3 separate regions of the Homo sapiens genome follow, and all the other regions are linked to region 1. Evidence: promoter capture Hi-C in human tissues and cell types (Jung and others, 2019). All regions are on one chromosome and are shown on one strand. Each heading gives the region's core, a stretch centred on a gene start or on the middle of the fragment in contact. The rest is flanking DNA. Distances are from core to core; before and after follow the strand shown.

Region 1 (3,417 bases), core at 499-2,998:
TTCAGAGTGGCGCTAATAAAATATGGCCTTAAGAATAATGCTGAAGTCAAGGTGATCTCAATGATTTAAATGTTAACAAGTGGCTGGGCGCGGTGGCTCACGCCTGTAATCCCAGCACTTTGGGAGGCCGAGGCAGGCGGATCACAAGGTCAGGAGATCCAGAACATCCTGGCTAACATGGTGAAACCCCGTCTCCACTGAAAAATACAAAAAATTAGCCAGGCGTGGTGGCGGGCGCCTGTAGTCCCAGCTACTCAGGAGGCTGAGGCAGGAGAATGGCGTGAACTCGGGAGGTGGAGGTTGCACTTCAGCCTGGGCGACAGAGCGAGACTCCGTCTAAAAAAAAAAAAAAGACTAGTGGGAGTGGCTTCTTGGGCATGGAGAGCACCTGAATCAGATTCTTGAGAAGCCCATAAAGCTTTTAAGGGACTTGTAGTGAACAAAGCACCACCAGCTGCCAAAATGTGGACAGAACAGTTTAGAGTGAAAAAAGGTCTGTGGGCTCACAATTTGCTAATGACAGGAAGGAGGTTGAGAAAGTTTCTCAAAGGGCACATTCTTCAACATGGCCAAGAAGGTGCTGGAAAAGGAGGGACACCCAAGAGGGCAGAGGCAAGAGCTGTGCTGAGATACAGCCTGGGGAGATACTCCCAGGAAGCAGAACTCGGGCCTGGTTAAGACTTCTTATTCTTGTAGGGCCTGAAAACATCTTCCAGTAGGATTTCAGAATTGCTTTGGACCAGTGATTACTGTGTCTCCTCCTCTTCTCATTTTCACATGCAAGTATTTATTGTGGTTATCTGGTCCCGGCTCACCATCATATATTGCGTGCACGGGAGAGAAAATTAATCTTTTTAGTTTGTAAGTCTCTGGATCAAGAGGAGCTGCACCGGACAAGCCAATCTAAAACAGACCGTGAGATCCTAGATTTTGTGCCTGATGCTGGGATTGTAAGAGGCTTTTGGGGATCTTGGGATGAACACTGGAAACTAACCATAGTTTGGGTTGAAAATATCACTACAGTTCGGAGATTTTAAGGCATCTGTGGCTTGTCTAAGTGCAAAGATTCAGTAGGCTTACTTCTAGCGACCTCAGACTTGACGCCACCCGAGACACCCTCACCCATGACCACATCTTGGACATTTTTTTTTTTTTTGAGAGAGAGTCTCGCTCTGTCGCCCTGGCTGGAGTGCAGCGGGGGCGATCTCGACTCACTGCAACCTCCGCCTCCCGGGTTCAGGCAATTCTTCTGTCTCAGCCTCCCAAGTAGTTGGGGCTACAGTCGCACGCCACCACGCCCAACAAATTTTTGTACTTTTAGTAGAAACGGGGTTTCACCATATTGGTCAGGCTGCTCTCGAACTGCTGACTTCATGTGAGCCACGGCCCCCGGTTCATTCACTTCTTGAAGGATCATTTACCAGGCATCTAGTAGCCATCATCAGGTCCTACGTCTCTCCAGCTACCGCGGAAAAAGATCCAGAACCAGCCCTACCCCGTCTAGAGGAAAGGATGAACATTAGGCAAGTACTTGGAATCGTGCGAAGTGCACTCCATCAGATCACCTTGGTGAGTGAACTGCCAAACCCGAAACACCGAAGGCCACCAGCCACAACCCGGAGGGCGGTCACAGCACCTTTCACGCATGCTCAAGGCAGGCTCGTCCTTGAGCATGCGCGGTACGTGGGGTATACGTCATCTCTCGGCGTCTGCGCCTGGCGTCACCGACCGGTGCGGACAGGAAGAGGCTCTGGGCTGGCACATGTGTATGGCGGTGAGGCGGGCGGGTACATGGCGGGCTCTGTGGGACTGGCGTTGTGCGGGCAGACGTTGGTGGTGCGGGGCGGCAGCCGATTCCTGGCCACCTCCATAGCAAGCAGGTGAGGGGGCCTTGGTCTTGGAACAGGGAGACCAGGCTGCGGGCGCGCGTCGGGTCCTGGCGACCCCGCTTCTCCCGCACCGCCTGGTCGCACCCACTCTGGGGTGACCCCGGGGAACTCCGCTCCAGCCCACGAGTCCTCCGCCGCAGTCTCGGCCTGGCCGCGTCTCTGCGCCTGGAGGGTCCGCTTTCGCCGTCCGCTCTCGGCGTCCGCTCCCCGGCTCCGGCGCGCTCCTTGCACTAGATGGCTGGTCTGCGGTGTTCTTGCCCGGTTAGCGCCGCCGGGTCGCTTCCGGTCTCCGCGGCGCCGGCGGGGACCGGGTAGGTAGAGCACGTGGGGCGACGCTGACCAGTCAGCAAGGCCCGGCCGAACACGCTCTGCAGAACTGGGAAGAAGCGGGTCTCGGGTCTCCCTGGTGAGAAGGGAGGGGCTTACTCACTGCGAGCTCACTGACCTCCAAGCGCGCTCCCTCTTTTTGCAGGGTTGTCTGTTCCCTCTTCCCGGCCTGCATCCACTCACCTGGCCTTAATTGCTCCTTAGGGCTCCAAGTCATCTCCGACACTTACCCAACCCAAGGGTGCACGTGGAGCTCGCAGTGCGCACCTCCCTAGTGGCCCTTCGCACGGCTCGGGTTTTGCTTTCCGTAATTTTATTCTCCTTCCTTAGTGTATCGCCAGTGCTAGGACGACGCAGGGGATTTTTAACTTAGTAAATGTTTGTTGATGGAACAGTCCTAACTCAGGACTCTCGGAGCAATTAGTAGTGCTGTCAGTTTCAGCCCCTCGTTTCCTTTCCCAGGTTATTTGTGATTTCATATTTGAAACGGACGACGTGTCTGTCAGATATACTGTATATTTTTTGTTCGTTTGGTTTTAGAAAGCCAATTCGATGTTAAGTTAGGTCTCACAAAAATTGTACTCAGAAACCCGTCACATATCCCAGATGATTTTGTTTTAGAGACTCACGGTCTAATATCTGCCAGAGTGAGCTGTGGATATATTAGACATGATTTGCTTACCTTCAGTCTTTGCATTTTGAGGAAATTCTAGTGGCTGGTGGAGTTTCTGACTTGGAAGACAAGTCCACGGTTCCATATGGAAAGTTTTTTGGTGCACTCGCTTTAAAGGCTATAAATATGTACAAGATACGTGCCAGGGGGTGAGGATGGGATAAACCGAAGTTTAGGTTCAGTATGGAAAATGGGTGATTCTTATGTTGGTAAGTGCCTGGGGTCATGGGAACACTTTCAGGTAGGTGAGATATGTTTCTAAATAGTAATGGCTCTTTGAAATTTGTATACAGAATCCCACTGAACGCTCAACAGTATCAGAACATAATTTCTTTTTTTTCTTTTTTTTTTTTTTTGAGGAGTCTCGCTTTGTCGCCCAGGCTGGAGTGCAGTGGCGCGATCTTGGCTCACTGCAAGCTCCGCCTCCCGGGTTCACGCCATTCTCCTGCCTCAGCCTCCCGAGTAGTTGGGACTGCAGGCGCCTGCCACCATGCCTGGCTAATTTTTTATATTTTTAGTGGAGATGGG
Region 2 (3,253 bases), core at 58-2,557, 280 kb after region 1:
ACTCTGTCGCCCAGGCTGGAGTGCAGTGGTGCGATCTCGGCTCACTGCAAGCTCCGCCTCCCGGGTTCACGCCATTCTCCTGCCTCAGCCTCCCGAGTAGCTGGGACTACAGGCGCCCACCACCACGCCCGGCTAATTTTTGTATTTTTAGTAGAGACGGGGTTTCACTGTGTTAGCCAGGAAGGTCTCGATCTCCTGACCTCGTGATCCACCCGCCTCGGCCTCCCAAAGTGCTGGGATTACAGGCGTGAGCCACAACACCCGGCCTCTTTCCTGTTCTAAAGCCTTTTGAAAGAAACTTCCATTCCTCTTCTGAAAGTTGCCTTGGTGTCTTTTTTTGCCTTATGCCCCTCAGTCTAATTCTTTCTTCTGAGGAGGCAAGAATTGAGGTTGCTGCAGACCCATAAGGATTCACTGCCAATAACTCGGATACCTCCACTGGTAACATATGTGGTACCATGAGACTCAGATATTTTCCACCCCTAATAGGACCACAGCATACAAATGAAAAGTTGATAGGATTATGTAAGTTGAAATGTTTAAACAGGATTTATGCAAGCTGTTGTGACTCAGTTTTACTCTTAAGGAGCTGAAGGATAGGGGTGGTGGTCTTCAATGTATCTCTATTTAATTTACCAGGCTGGCCTCTGCAGAAATAGGAGACTCCTGGAGGAAGACAGTGGACTTCAGCAAGCTGCACCAAGGAGAATCCACAGCGGCAGCTGCCCTGCCAGGCGCGGGATCTCGGTCAAGGTGGATCAACACAGCCTCAGGTGTGTGCTCTGCCCCACTGAGATGGCAAGTGCATTCTTTTCTATTCCTACGAGGAAAGAGCATCCGAAAGAGCCTGCCTTCACATAGGATGAATAACAGTGGACCTTGGCTTTGCCTCAGTGTTATGTGCTAATAAACCATGTATTCTATGCCCTAAGGAAGCCCAGAGAGAACTGGACAAGCTGGATATCCCAAAGAGCATGGCACTGGCCCACCACATTGATTACATTGCGCTGGCCGGGTGCTAACCAAGAAGCAGCTAACACACTGGGAGTCTTGGTAAGATGCCTGAGTGCCTGCAGCTGGCAGACAAATCCTACAAAGATTCTGGGAACTGCCACTAATAACACTCTTGGTGGGGAGGTCCCATATCCCATAACCAGGAGCATACTGGGCCTCCTGTCCACAGCAAAGAGCCAATTACTGCATCTTGCATCTCCCATGACCAAGAGAGACAGACAATGCCAGTACGCCTTCTGGAGGCAGCACGTTCCACACACATGAAGACTACTCCAGCCTATGTACCATTGATAGGAGAAGCTGTCGGCCTTCCCTGAGCCTGCAGCAGGTCGAGGCTGCAGTGCTGGCAGCCCTGTGACTCAGGCCCTGCAGCTGGTCGGACCCTGTGTTATGAGAGGTATCAGACGTGGGAAAGCAATGCTGTGTGTTTATGGCAAACCACTATGCCAGAATCACAGTGCAGGCCCCTGGGATTCAGAAACAAAGCCGTGCCATCTGCGGCAGAGGATTCTGCGAAAAATTCTGAAAAGTCCCTGTTGATGTGCTCCTGGGGCCTGGGGTGATGGAATACCTGATTGTGCATGTGGAACTGCTCAGATGAGCTGGATTCTGTCTCACCCCTGGGTCATGAGGTTGGGGACTCAGAAATAACCCATCACAGGTGGGAGTGTGCGTGTGGCAGCAGCAGAAGCAGGAGCAGGAGGCCAAGCAGCGGCAGCTGCCCAGTACCCCCCCCCACCCTCCACAGCAGTCCCCACAGCCCCAGTGGAGGAACCTTCTGGTGAACTGAGGAGGGAGGGACAAGCCCGGCCTCAGTTCATGGAGGTGTCTGCTCTGCCTGTGGGGCCAGCCCAAATCGCCTGGCTGCCATACTCCAGTCTCAGCAAGCTGCCCTTTAAAGAGGGTGATATGGTTTGGCTCTGTGTCCCCACCCAAATCTCATCTTGAACTGTAATCCCCAGGTGATGAGGGTGAGACCTGATGGGAAGTGATTGGATCATGGGGGCTGTTTTCCCCATGCTGTTCTCGTGATAGTGAAGGAGTTCTCATGAGATCTGATGGTTTTATAAGTGTCTGGCAATTCCCCTGCTTGCACTTGTCTTTCTCACCCACCACCACGTAAGACGTGCCTGCTTCCCCTTCCGCCATGATTGTAAGTTTCCTGAGGCGTCCCCAGCCATGCAGAACTGTGAGTCAATGAAACCTCTTTTCTTTATAAATTACCCAGTCTTGGGTAGTATCTTTATAGCAATGTGAGAACGGACTAACACAGAGGGTGATGAGGGAACATTCTCCCAGTGGTCATCCCCTCTGTGTAAGTGGCTGTGAGGTTAGAAGATCTCTGAACCCATGGGCAATGGCCAACGACTTTGCCGGCTGAACCCAGAATGGGAGCGATGTGGAGAGTGGGGATGGGCAGTCAGGGATGAGGCATGGGTTGGACGTGGGGGAGTGGGCAGGAGGTGCAAAGATCTGTGTGTAACAGGCAGGTGCTCCCAGAGAGCACCTGCCGCAGAGGAGGCCTGAACGACCCCTAGGGAAGGTCAGGCATGGCTGTTTGGGCCAAGCGTGATGGGATGGTTCTCTCTCTCCATGGGGGCTCAAGGCTGCCGTCTCTCTCCCTGTGCCATCCTCTGCTGCCTCCTTTCCATGACCCTTGACCCCAAGGGAACTTCACGATGAGCCTCCTGCCTGCTAGGGTCTGAATCTGAGTCTGTTTCCTGGGGACCCGCCTACCACACTGCCACCCTCCCAGAGTAGAGAAACCAGAAGTAACTGACCAGTGCTGACATCACATGGCCATCCCAAGGTCAAGCTTCTTCCCCTCACGTATGAAGAACATTCTCTCTCTCCCACCTGAAGTTCCCGCCAGTCCTACCTGAAGTTCCCACCAGTCCTGCCGGAAGTGCTACGGCTGCCCTGGCGATCTAGGTGGTCTCTCCATTGTGGGTGGTGTCCAGTGGTCCTCAGCGGGTCTGGACAGGCCCTTTCTGGACTGGAGACCTATGAAGTGGAAAGACAAGTCATTCACTTTTCCTACCTGTTTACTATGAAATGTGGGAGCAGAGACAATAGCAACCAGCCCCCATTCAGAGAGGGGCAGAGTGGCAAGCACATGGCAATCGTGGAGTGCGGCCAGCCGGAGATCCCAGTTCGGTAGGGGACACTCCCTGATGTGGCCCTAGCTCTCCTCCCTAGGCAGGCCCCAGTCCATGTTCTTGGTGGCAGTGACTGGCCC
Region 3 (3,153 bases), core at 354-2,853, 320 kb after region 1:
TGCCAGGCTTTCCGTTTTTCCAGTGAAGGCAGGGAGCCCCATTTTTCTATGAACCTGAATTTCTAAATGGAGAAAACGAATTTCAAAAAAAATTTAAACATGGTATGAGGCGAACAAATATCACTGCAGCCATATTCAGTCCTGAAGCTAGCACTGTGCAGCGTCTAGCTTTGGCTATGGATTCGAATCCCCGGGTTCTACAACCACAGATGTCTTTTTAAGCTTAATCATCAACCGACCAGACTTCCCACAGCCAGCACAGCAGCCCTTTCTGAAACTCCTCCTGGGCACGTTTACTTACTGGAATTTTCAAGGCCCCTGTGAAGCTGATGGCGGCCGTGCCACTCCCACCGTCCCCGGGGAGAATGACGACGTGGTTCGGGTGGATGGAGCCCTTCCCATCTGAGAGCAGCAGGCACTGCATCTCTGGGTCCTGGAGGCAAATCCATTGGGAACAAAAAGGAAAGGTGTTACCAGCCGGGCAGTCTGGGTGAAGTGGGGCCAGGCTTCCTAATGACGAGGGTGCCTGGCGGCTCTCTCTTCCACTGCCTTGGAGACATCCTGGGTGACATTCCCACCTGGCCACTGTGTTAGAATGATTAGCATTCATGCATTTTCATGAACGGCTAGGTACACAGATCCTCTGATCCAGAAATTCTAGGAATCTATTGGCAAAAAATAATTTGAAAAGTAAAAAGATACTTATAAAGTAAAATGGATGTCACATCATCATTGAGAAAAAATAGAAAATTCAAATACATCCATACGAATGACATCTTGTAAAAAAAAGGTTGGGAGATTTTAATGACGGAAAATGCTTATGACACATTAAATAACACATCATTCAAAACTGCATGTCATTATAACCTCAAAGAATGTTTAAATATCTACGTATGTAACTAGGCAACTATAGGATCTATTTCTAGAAAGAAAGAAGCTAAAATCTAAGCCAACAATGGTTGTCAGCGAGTGGTGGAATTATGTGTAATTTTTATCGAAATGCTAATAAGAAATTCTTTACATGATCCTGCATTTTTTAGGAGTTCACAATGGCCATATATGACCAGAAATAACATTATTTTAAAATACACCAACATTATTTTAAAATACACCTATTCTGATATTTATGAATTCTGATTGTCTAGACGTTCCTAAAGGACAAAGTGTACATTCATTAAAGCAAAGAAGAGTGATTCCCCAACCTAGAGTGGGATTTCAAGTCAGAGCAAGGATAACATAAAAATAATCTTAGCCTGGGCCACACAGTAAGACCTAAAAAAAAATAGTGGAATGTGGTGGTATGCGCTTGTAGTCCTAGCTGCTCTGGAGGCTGAGGCAGGAGGATCACCTGAGCCCAGGAGGTGGAGGCTGCAGTGAGCTGTGATTGTGCGGCTGTCCTTCAGCCCGGGCAAGACCCTGTCTCAAAAAAGAATGAAAATAAAATAAAAATATTCTTCATGAGTGAGCTATGAGGTTCAAGGTCTTACAAAGAAATGCTTCTAGGTATCTCAGACCTTTCACAAAATCAAACAGGCTTTGTGGTACTTATCTCACTATAACCTGTTATAAGTTGGACTAAAAATGTAGTTTAATTAAAAAAAAAAAAGAAAATGGTAATGTATTCCACATTCCCCTGCCCCTTGATATTTAGAATATTTAGAATTCTCTTCCAGTGGAAAACAGACATTTGGAAACCGGGTGGCAGGTGGCACCGAGTGCAGCCCAGTGTGGGCACCCAGTGGGTGGCCTTGGGGGCAGCCCAGCGTCTACGTGCCCCAGGAAGCCCGGCTTCACAGCTAGGACTCTGGCATGGAGAGCGGGTCTCTGATGAAGATATTCACATGTGGCCACATAGTCAGGTGCTCTGGAATGAAGATGACAAGGCTGAGTGCAGATGCCTAACATGCTCCCGATGATAATCCCATCACGGCACGTGAAAGCAAAGAATGGCGACTTGAGTTTCTGAATAAACTTTTCTCTCATGAATTCTGCTAATCGTCCAGTTTAGAAAACTACATCAGTAATGCTCTACTGTGGCTAAGCACTGGAATCTCCTCGGGGGGCTTTGAGAAGCCTCGAATTCCCCCAGCCCCACGGAAGCAGTCCCTGGGGCAGCCCCAGGCGAGTTCCACTCATAGCAAGCTGAGGGCTACAGGACTTCACAGGCCGTTCCGCAGGAAACAGGCTCAGCAGTGGGTGAAATGCAGCCAGCTGGAGAAAAGTCAAGCGGAACGAGGCCGCTTAGCCAGGAGAAGCGCACCCTCTGACCCGCAGAGAAGTGACCGCAGGTCAACACAGAAGACCTACTTGGCCTCAGGTAGGACCCAGATGCCCAAAGGCCGCCCACGGCCCTTGCAGGATTTGTAAAGTGCTTCAGGGTCCACTTGCTGGGCTGGTTTAAAGCCACAGACACAGACCCTCTGCTCCTTATCTAAGCAGCAAGGAGCCCCCGAGACAGACAGAAGGCTCTGTTTCTGCTGAGAACGGGCCCTGTGCTCACAGCCACTCATCTTAAACAGGACTTGTAGCCACCATACCTGAGTTGTTTGCTCCTGGAGGAGATGGGAAAGAGTGTGGGGCCATGGCTGGTTTTCCAAAACAAACAGGGGGCTGCTGCTGCCTCCTCCTTACATAGCAAACAAGAAGCCACTGGGTGGACCAAGACAAGGCTGGAGGCCAAGAGGCACCTCTGCCTCTAAACAAGCAGTTTCCAGTCTGTGTCCCAAGAGCCCCAAATGGGATCTGTGGAGCCCCCGGTGGGTGTGGGGGCTTCTGTGGCCAGTGCACTCCACGCTTAGGGCTTACACTTTCAAAGAGAAAAGGGTTCCCTCTACTAAAATGCCCCCACACACAACAAAAATACACACAGACGCATGTGGGGGGACTGCGTAATAACGATCGCTTTATCTAAAAATGCTAAGCTCACCCCGCTACCCGATGCTGTCTGCAGCTTCCCTTTGGGAAAGGCCATCACAAGAGAGATTTGTGGAGTCCCCACTTGGCGTGCAAAGTGCACGGTGGAGTCACATTCAACCTCCAAATACCCACTCCGTGCTCACGCCGCGTTTGGTGGGCCCAACAGTTCTTGAGCCACAGCCAATCAGAAGGATCCTCAGAGACGTCAAGGAGGAAAAGTGACAAGTGACTACAGGG

The links. The method cuts DNA at HindIII sites, captures the fragments that hold promoters and counts their contacts. A contact is called where the count stands out against the background at its distance.
Region 2: a fragment that was not itself captured here is called in contact with the fragment with the promoter of WDR4 in region 1 in 4 of the 25 tissues and cell types used here (bladder, lymphoblastoid cells, mesenchymal stem cells and 1 more).
Region 3: a contact is called between a fragment that was not itself captured here and the fragment with the promoter of WDR4 in region 1, in 1 of the 25 tissues and cell types used here (spleen).

The regions. Positions count from the first base shown.
Region 1 is chr21:42,877,870-42,881,286 of GRCh38, reverse strand. WDR4 (WDR4 tRNA N7-guanosine methyltransferase non-catalytic subunit) reads left to right here and starts at 1,748. Exons shown (of 11, transcript NM_018669.6): 1 at 1,748-1,880. The coding sequence starts at 1,792. LOC105372817 (a long non-coding RNA gene) reads right to left here and starts at 1,575. Exons shown (of 4, transcript XR_937765.3): 1 at 1,532-1,575. RefSeq lists enhancers at 1,496-1,845, 1,916-2,025, 2,056-2,105, 1,758-2,722, 2,723-3,417. The HindIII fragment of the contact is 11,595 bases long and covers 1-3,417 here.
Region 2 is chr21:42,598,235-42,601,487 of GRCh38, reverse strand. LINC01671 (long intergenic non-protein coding RNA 1671) reads left to right here. Exons shown (of 2, transcript NR_131192.1): 2 at 640-2,084. Among named protein-coding and RNA genes, the nearest start is that of LINC01671, 15 kb to the left of the region's middle. The HindIII fragment of the contact is 9,872 bases long and covers 1-3,253 here.
Region 3 is chr21:42,556,238-42,559,390 of GRCh38, reverse strand. It overlaps SLC37A1 (solute carrier family 37 member 1), which reads right to left. Exons shown (of 20, transcript NM_001320537.2): 11 at 302-433. Among named protein-coding and RNA genes, the nearest start is that of SLC37A1, 44 kb to the right of the region's middle. The HindIII fragment of the contact is 7,302 bases long and covers 1-3,153 here.